Linked DNA regions of Homo sapiens: region 2 is linked to region 1. Evidence: promoter capture Hi-C in human tissues and cell types (Jung and others, 2019). All regions are on one chromosome and are shown on one strand. Each heading gives the region's core, a stretch centred on a gene start or on the middle of the fragment in contact. The rest is flanking DNA. Distances are from core to core; before and after follow the strand shown. Region 1 holds the start of EMP2 (epithelial membrane protein 2). Region 2 overlaps LOC105371075 (a long non-coding RNA gene).

Region 1 (4,619 bases), core at 923-3,422:
GGATTACAGGTAAGCACCACCGCACCTGGCTCCCTTTTAATAGACGCTAAACCTCAGACTCATGGACTCTTTCAGGCAACAGTATCTGGCTACAATTTACTAACACTGTTTTATTTCAATAGTGTTTATATTCATAAGTTTGTCTTCTACTTTTGGCAGATGGCACTGGTTTCCTGTTTACCATAGCAATATAGGGCTTTCTTTTTCAAATAAACATATTAAAATCAACGGAGTTAATTTAAAGAAAACAATTAAGTGAATACCAGTTCAGGTGGAAGGTGGATATGGCAAAATTTAGAGCTTGAGTGTGGTTAGCATTTGGTAAATAGTGATAGGGTGGAAAGAGGAGAATGGGGTTTGCTGCAGTGAGTCTGGGTTCAAATCCAAACTTTATCAACTGCATAGAGACTTTGGGTAAGTTACTGGTGTAGCTTCTCTGAGCCTTAGTTTCTTCATGGATAAAATGAGGGTAACTTGTTTTGCAGGGCTGCCGTGTTCTATTGAAGGTTATGTTTGTAAAGTAACCGGCACACACTAAGCCCTCAGCAAATGCAGAAACCTGCCTGCTCCATCCCCTACCTGGCCTTTCCATTCTGGGAGACTCTGGAGTTTTCTCTGTCCTCCACATGGCCATAGGCAGGTAGGTGGGCCCTTCCTGGTCCTCCTCTATAGCAACCAGACCTCACCCTCCTCCCCTTTTATGGAGGAAGAGGACTCAGTTCATATTAGTGCCTTCCTGTCCCCTCTCCAGCTCCAAACACACACACACACACACACACACACACACACACACACACACACAATTATCTTGGGGGATGGGAGTCTTGGTTAACTGTAGAATTAAAGGAGATTTGGCAGGTCAGACCCTAGGCCAACTTGGGAAGCTCAAGGCCTGGGGGAGGGGGTGGCCCTTTAGAGGGGATCTCAAATCCCCCAAGGATCTCTAATTTAGAGCCAACAAGGCCCTCTCGTGACAGAGCTCCTCAGCAGGACTAAAAAAAGATGCTCAACAGAAAATACAAACATGGAGTCCAACCAGAGCACAGGATTGCACAATAAATTAACATTTCTTAAAAGGGTTTCTCATTCTCTTGTCAGTAGCACAAGTCAATTGCCTTGTATTCTGGGGTATGTGCAAGTAACATGAACTTGTTAAATTAAAAGTTTAAAATATACTGTTATATGTTGTGACCCTGTTTTGGAATTTCTTCAATTTGTAAAAATACACTGACTCCCACTCCCTCCTTCCACACACACACGATGGGGCTCAGGCGCCTCTGGTCTCCTCCCCCATCCTCCCAAGAGCCCCTAGAGCAGATCAGCCCTCCCAGTTTCCAGATGGGGAAACTGAGGCTGGAAAGAAAGGCAGTTCCTTTGATGTCATTTCCAGGGACACTAAATACCAGGACTGTGGGTTGAAAGGCTGTGGGGAGTGCTTTGTGTGAGTGTGTGTGTGTGTGTGTGTGTGTGTGTGTGTGTACTGGTCGGGTGGGGGGAGTGAACGGGGGGTCCTGGAAGAGTCTGAAGACTGGTTGCTGGGCATCTCGCACCAAGGCCAGGACTCCAGGTGAGATGATAAAAATAACAATGGCTGACGTCTATGGAGCAGGTACCATGAGCCAAACATTGTGGACGTATTACCACCTTCCGACCTATAATCACTCCCATTCCCAGAAGAGGAAACTGAGACAGGGGAGATTATGGACGAGCTCAGGAAGTTCATAAAAGGCCAGAGAAGGGGTTCTAGAGCAGGGAGCCCGGATTCCAAAACTCCTTAGGGAAGAGGAAGAAAAGGGGAGAAGAGGAGAGGAAAGAGAATGAGAGGGATGTGGAAACCTGCAGAGAAGGGAAGACCCTTGCTCCCGGGAGCCTCCCTTTCTCCCTTTTCCCCCGGGCCCGTGCCACCGGCTCCGCCCCAAAGCTGGCCACAGAGCCGCAGGGAGGCGGGCGGGAACGGTGGTGCGGGGGCGCCAGGGCGCTCCCGGCCTCGGCCTTTCCCTCCAGGGCCCCCTCCTTTCGCCGGCGGCCCCTCCCACTCGGCTCTCCCGGCTCCTGGCGTCACGGCCCGGGAGGCGGGATCGGGGAAGGAGGGGCCCCGCCGCCTAGAGGGTGGAGGGAGGGCGCGCAGTCCCAGCCCAGAGCTTCAAAACAGCCCGGCGGCCTCGCCTCGCACCCCCAGCCAGTCCGTCGATCCAGCTGCCAGCGCAGCCGCCAGCGCCGGGTGAGTTGTGGGCGCACCCAGGGCGCGGGGCGACATCGGGGGGGCCCCGGGATCGTGTACGCCCGGGCAGCAGGGACGCGACCCCTCCACTTACTGGACCGGGAGCAGCCCCCGGAATTGGTGACAGTAACGGGAGGGCCGAGGTGCCACCCATGCCGCCGACCTCTGGTCTGCGCCACGCTCGCTCCGGCCCCAGAATTCCACTTCGCCATCCCGGGACAGCTTCCCACGCCTTTTGAGCCGAAGCAGGCGGGAAAAGTTTGGGGAGGAGTCAGGGCGCCTCCCCTCGCCCCGCCGGACTTACACCCGGGGCTCTTGGAGTCCAGGGAGATCCCCAGGTCGCGTGAGGGATTCCCGGGCAGCGTCCCCAGACTCGCCTCGCGGGCAGGACTGGTGCGCCAGGCCGGGCCAGCGGGTCCTCCTGGGCTGCGTACCCCTCTAGGCCCCCGCCGCTGCTCCGTCGCGCCCCCGAGCGGCGAGGAGCGACTTCTTGGGGGTCAGGAACGGTGGAGGAGCCGGGAGGCGCTGCTGGGATGACACCTCTCTCCCTGCCAACTCTAGAAGGGCTTGGGGGGCTTTAAAGAGGCGAGACCGCACCCATGTGTTCCAGAGGTAGGAGAGGCTGCAGCTCGTAGTGTGTATTCTACGCCCTCCCCAAATCCAGAGATCTGAGCACGCTCCAGGGAGGTCTTTTAGGTGAAGATGTGGGGCTGGACATGGGGACTCCGAAGACACCACAGGGCAAAGCTCTCCCTCCAGGCCAGCTTCAGTTTTGGGGAAGGGAGCACTGCCCCTCCCAAGCTTTGAGGGTGTGTGTGTGTGTGTGTGTGTGTGTGTGTGCACCTTGATCTTATAATTCAGCTGTGTCTAAGTAAGGGGCTTGGAGAGGGACTTAAGAAGCCTCCAGTTCAAATACAGTGTGATTCCACTTTTATGAGACACCTAGAATAGGCAAATTTTATAGACAGAAAGTAGAATGATGGTTGCCAGGGCCTGGGGGTACCTGGGAACCGGGAGTTACTGTTTAATGGGACAGAGTTTTTCTTGGGGAGGATGAAAAAGTTTTGGGTATACATAGTGGCAATGGTTACACAGTATCGTGAAGGTATTTAATGCCACTGAGTTGTATGCTTATCATCGGTTAAAATGATGATTATGATGTTATGCATATTTTATCATAAAAATTTTTTAAAAGCCGCCTTTAGCCACCTCTGCACTCCAGTCTGAATCAGAGAGAAATCTAAGAACCGACACATTATTGCTGGGCACCTCTTCCTGGAATTCGGCCTTCAGTTAAGAAAGCTTAAAGAGGACGAGGAAGGGACGGGGTCCTGGTTTCCCAGGAGTCACACAAGGGGAAGGATGGCGACCTGAGCTGCTGGAGGTTTGCAGTTGGCTGGTGCTCGCCCTCCATCTCCGTTTCTCCCTGGGAGCCTCACCCCTGAGCTGTTTCCAGCACGCTCTCCTGTTGCAAGTGGGGAAACAGGCTAGAGATCTAAGTCGGTTTGCTCAAGGCCACTGAGCTGGTAAATGCAAAGAACTAGACCTTGAACCTCCATCTGCCTCCCAAGCCCTCCCCTTCTTTCCACCTGGAGATGCCCTGCTGGTTTGCAGGGAATGAGGGGAGACCCTTCTGGGGAAAACAGGGCGTGGATGCCCACGGGGGCCTTGGCAAATGCCAAGACTACAGCCCAGGGAGAGGCGTGGAGGTGGCAGGAAGGTGCAGAACCTGTTTTCCCACTGAGGGTTTTTGGATCTCACCACCTCCATCCCATGGGGAGCCAGGGAGTCGAGTAGGAGGCAGAGGGCTGGCCACATAGCCTGGAGCCTCCTCTGCCCCTCAAGTGGAGAGATTGAGGTGCGCCTGAAATCCAGAGAATGTGTTTGTGTTGGAAACCACGGAGTCGACCAGCTGAGTGGGTGAGGGCAGGGCCAGGCGGAAGCGTCCCTGTGAGGAGGGTGAGGCTTGGGGCTGACACTGCCCCACCTCGGGCTGGAGGAGGGGGTGCACCCGCTCTGGCTGGCACCACCCCAGATTAGGGTCTAGCTAATGAGGGGCTAAAAGGGCTTGGTGGCGTTTTATTGTGGCTATGGAGCACATCCATTTAGCAAACCGCCCCCGCTTCTCCACCCTCACCCCAGTAATGGCACTTAAATCCTTTCTTCCTGGAACGGAAGTGAATGTTTCACCTCAGTATCTTTTCTCTGCCTCTCACATAATATCTTCGTAGTAGGAGCTAAAACCACATGCATATGTGCACAGACTCCCCAATTTCCCGCAACAGGTAATTAACAGGGAGGATCAACCAGCCCATTTTTCACCCTAGGCATAGAGTGACACTCTCCTGCCCTCGCCTCTGCTATACAGCCTTCCAGGTCAGTGAGGGCACAGCAAAGG
Region 2 (4,239 bases), core at 680-3,179, 1.3 Mb after region 1:
GCACACCTGTAGTTCCAGCTACTCAGGAGGCTGAGGCAGGAGAATTGCTGGAACCCAGGAGGCGGAGGTTGCAGTGAGCCAAGATCGCGCCACTACACTCCAGCCTGGCGACAGAGTGAGACTCTGCCTCAAAAATAAATAAATAAATAAATAAAAATTAAAAAGCTACAATGGTACCATCAAAAGCAAAGAGAGCTCAGTCCTTGCAGTCTCAGAGAAAACAAACTCAAACCCACTGCTCCTCCCCTGAAGACATTTGGCCTCACTTACAGGACAGTGAGAAGGTTTCAATCCCTCTTTAAACCTCAGTTTCCTCTTCTGTAAAGTGGGTTGCTTTGACGATAAAGCAAGATAACGTATTTTCAAGCACAGAGTAGGTACTCAAAAAATTATTTTTTAAAAAAATCTGAATAATGACCACCCTAAGTACAACCTTTGGGTCTGGGCCTATCCAAGAGCGCTCACCTACCTTTTTGGCTTTTGGAAAGAATCAGAAATTTGTTGAATCCACACTCTCCAGGAAGCAGAAAAGCTCACTGCCTCTTGCAGAGGACGTAATAGCTAAAGTGTGGCTTTTTAATTTGTTAATCTTTGCAAATCAGGGTTCCAGAGCTTTGCAAAGATGCGGAACCATCAGAGCTCTATACAGAAACAATCAATTCCTTGATTAAAATATGACAGCTTAATTAATTAGTACTTAATAGCTCAACCTTAATTATACCCTACATCGTTATTTGATAATATTCATAAATTTCCCATGTGGCTGTGCACACATGTCTTTTATCAACTGATTACAAATGCCAGGACTTGACCTCCATCCTCGGGAAAATGTCTCGGATGTCAAGAACATGAAAGACTTCATTAACACTAATGCCGACCTCACCAAGGTCTACTCCCAGTTAAGAATTCTCTGATTTAAAAGTTCTTTGAGATCCACCAGAGAAAAGTGATGATTTGTGCACTAAGTTTGCTGTATAGTTTATTTCCTTCAAACCTCAATATTTTAGGAAATTTTATAAAGTATTAAATAATATCCCTGGATCTTACTTTCACCTGAAAAAGACACTCACAGACTTTATTTTTTTTTAACCCGGAGAGTGGGTTAGTTTCTAAACTAGGTGAGAATAGCTGAAATTCTTTGGATGTGATGGGAGAGTTATGGGGACCCCGTATGATGATGATTAATATGGCTTTGAAGCCCAAAAGCCCTGGCTTGAGGCCAGGCACAGTGGCTCACACCTGTAATCCCAGCACTTTGGGAAGCCAAGGTAGGTGGTTCACTTGAGGTCAGGAGTTCAAGACCAGCCTGGCCAAGATGGCGAAACCCCATCTCTACTAAATATACAAAAATTAGCTGGGTGTGATGGTGTACGCCTGTAGTCACAGCTACTCGGGAGACTGAGGCAGGAGACTCACTTGAACCTGAGAGGCAGACGTTACAGTGAGGGGATATCACATCACTGCACTCCAGCCTGGGCGACAGAGCAAGACTCCATCTCAAAAAAAAAAAAAAAATACCTGGGCTTGAATCTCTGTAATTCTGAGCTTTGTGATCTTGATTGAGTTTCTTCACTTCTCTGAGCCTGTCTGTTCATTTGGTAAATTGAAATAATAATTTGTAGTTCTCAGAATGTTGATATGACATTCAAATGGATGGGAAAGTGCCTGGCACGTACTAGATGCTCAATAAATGTTACATGTTAACCCATCAGCTGTGCCAGAGCGTAGGCCATTCTGCTTTGTCCAATTGCCCATGGAGATCACTCACCTGGAGGAGGGGGATCAGACCTCTGTATGTGGGAGCTCTGGAGAATGAGGTGGGAGGAGAGCTATCAGAGAGGATAAGAAGATTATATTCTGCCAAATAAACCAGTTCTTCTGTGGATGTGTCTTTTGGGCTTGGTGGGGGCGGGGGGGGGAGTGCAAGAGAGGGCACAAAACTTCCCAGAAGTCTCCGGAACTACTTTAGGAGCTGCAGCCCTGCCTAGAGGGAAGGGACCCCACTTGAGTTGAGGTGCCCAGCCTCTAAGCATGGCTCTGTCTTGGGTGGCATTAAGCAAGTCCCTCAACTCTTGGAAAATTAGTCTTCTTCTTTGTTAAAGAAATTGGTTCCATTTTTCCAAACACCTGCTGCAACTACAGAATCACCTGGGACATTTATTTAAATAGAGATATAATATACAGCAGCAATCCCCCAGCACACACATCCCAAATAATGACAATTTCCATATAACAATTTTTTTTAGATACTCACTTCTGGGCCTCGATTGATTCAGTGGGTCTGAAGTGATTTCCAAGAATTATTATTTAAATTTCTCAAGGAATTCTGATGGGCAACCAGGTTGGGGAACTAAAAGGATTGCTGGTTTCCAGTGTCCGCATCCACCGGGAAAACTTGGCTTCGTTGCCGCCTTGGCACACCAGTGACACCTGGTGGCTTGGAGGAGTAACTCTAGCTTGTCGCGGCACGTGATTTCGAATCCTCCATTGCATCGCTCCTGGCAGTTGTGGGACGAGATGACGTTTTCCACTCTTCCCAAAAGTTAGATAACATGATTCTCTGTCTCAACATCCATAATAGACACAGCATCTCAGCTCCTGAATCCATCTTTCAAACTACCCATTTGACAGATGTCCACCTTGGACCACCACCATTACTTTTTTGGCCTCCAAATTCTGATGGCACCTGCAACTAGAAACCCCACAAGACATCGCCATTTCAGGAGACACACAGACATGGGGTGACCACTCAGATACCTGGACTGGACTGTGTCCTAAAAGAAGAGACACATGACCTTTCCTTCAGCTCATAGAATTTACAAAGTGAGATAAGACGAGATGCTGAAAAAGGCATAAACTGATGTACTCTCAATCTCCCATTCCCTAGAATCTGTGACCAGACAATGAGAACACATGGGCACAGGGAGGGGAACATCACACACCAGGGCCTGTCGGGGGGTGGGGGGCTAGGGGAGGGATAGCATTAGGAGAAATACCTAATGTAGATGACGGGTTGATGGGTGCAGCAAACCACCATGGCATGTGTATACCTATGTAACAAACCTGCACATTGTGCACATGTATCCCAGAACTTAAAGTACAATAAAATTAAAAAAAAAAAAAAAAAGAATCTGTGACCAGACAACTCTTTACATTCTTGTTGGCCATCCCAAGATTAATCAATCATACCAATAATCGAAATTACAGAAAATCTATCCAACACAGTGGCCATTTCCAGAAATTAGATTGTTCCTCATTAGCGGGGGATTTTCTTTTTCTCTATATTATTTCCCACTAATATTAAAAAAATATTTTTACTGGATTTTTTCCATCATTTTCCCAGCATGGACCTAATAGCAACCAAGAAGTACTTTAAAAATTCCATTATCTTTATCGAATGGAAATTCTCACAATATCACAATTGCCAAAGGTCTCTTTTATTCTGGTGTTAACCTTGGGAAGATTTTAGATGTCCTTTGGGGCATGCACAGAGGACCGAGGAAATCTTTCTTTTCTACATCCTTGGAGAGCTCAGCACACTTGACTAAGTATGAAACTGTTCACTCCTGATTTGTTTCTCTGGTTGAATATTGATTTGACTTCTGTTGTATATCACAAATGCACACCAATCTCCAGAATCGTGGGGCACTGAGGGTTTCTGTTTAATATTCAACTTGGAGCCACTCAAGCACTCACACAATTTTTTTTTTAGTTGCTCCACCTGTTGTCCTCCCAGATGGATGAGGTAAGAATGTCGTGTATAAAACAAAGTAATTGCTGTGGCTGTTAAACAATTCAGGACCACTTCCCCTGAGCTCTGCTGGGGATTTACAAAGTCCCACAGATGCCAAGCTTGAAGAAGCTTAAAAGGGGAGCTGCTCATTTGGAACTGAGTAAATCCAGTGATCTCTCTGGTTATGTAGCAAACCTGTCTAAGTCTGCGTGTCCGATATATTTGCGCTTTTGTACTGGCTAAGTCCATACTTGGGCACATCTGGCATTCCCCCTATTTATGAGACTGACACCTATGCTGCATGTTGGAGGGGAAATATATGGTTCTGAGCAGTATTTCTGGTGCCTGGACACTTGAAGTTACTTGATCTAAATGCAAGTCTTTAAGTGAGAGAATCATCAGGGGAATTCTATTTTTAAAATCCCAAAGTGTTTAAAAATAAAATAAGATTCTTAAGGACAAATCAGTTTGTTTTGGGGGTGGAGGGAATCATCTGGATATTTGCT

The links. Contacts are between HindIII fragments. The study calls those that stand out against the background at their distance.
Region 2: a fragment that was not itself captured here is called in contact with the fragment with the promoter of EMP2 in region 1 in 1 of the 25 tissues and cell types used here (dorsolateral prefrontal cortex).

What each region holds. Positions count from the first base shown.
Region 1 is chr16:10,578,151-10,582,769 of GRCh38, reverse strand. EMP2 (epithelial membrane protein 2) reads left to right here and starts at 2,172. Exons shown (of 5, transcript NM_001424.6): 1 at 2,172-2,221. RefSeq lists silencers at 2,012-2,251, 3,604-3,898 and an enhancer at 3,569-4,146. The HindIII fragment of the contact is 8,569 bases long and covers 1-3,273 here.
Region 2 is chr16:9,295,873-9,300,111 of GRCh38, reverse strand. LOC105371075 (a long non-coding RNA gene) reads right to left here. Exons shown (of 2, transcript XR_933060.2): 2 at 2,138-2,692. Among named protein-coding and RNA genes, the nearest start is that of LINC02177, 58 kb to the left of the region's middle. The HindIII fragment of the contact is 5,241 bases long and covers 1-4,239 here.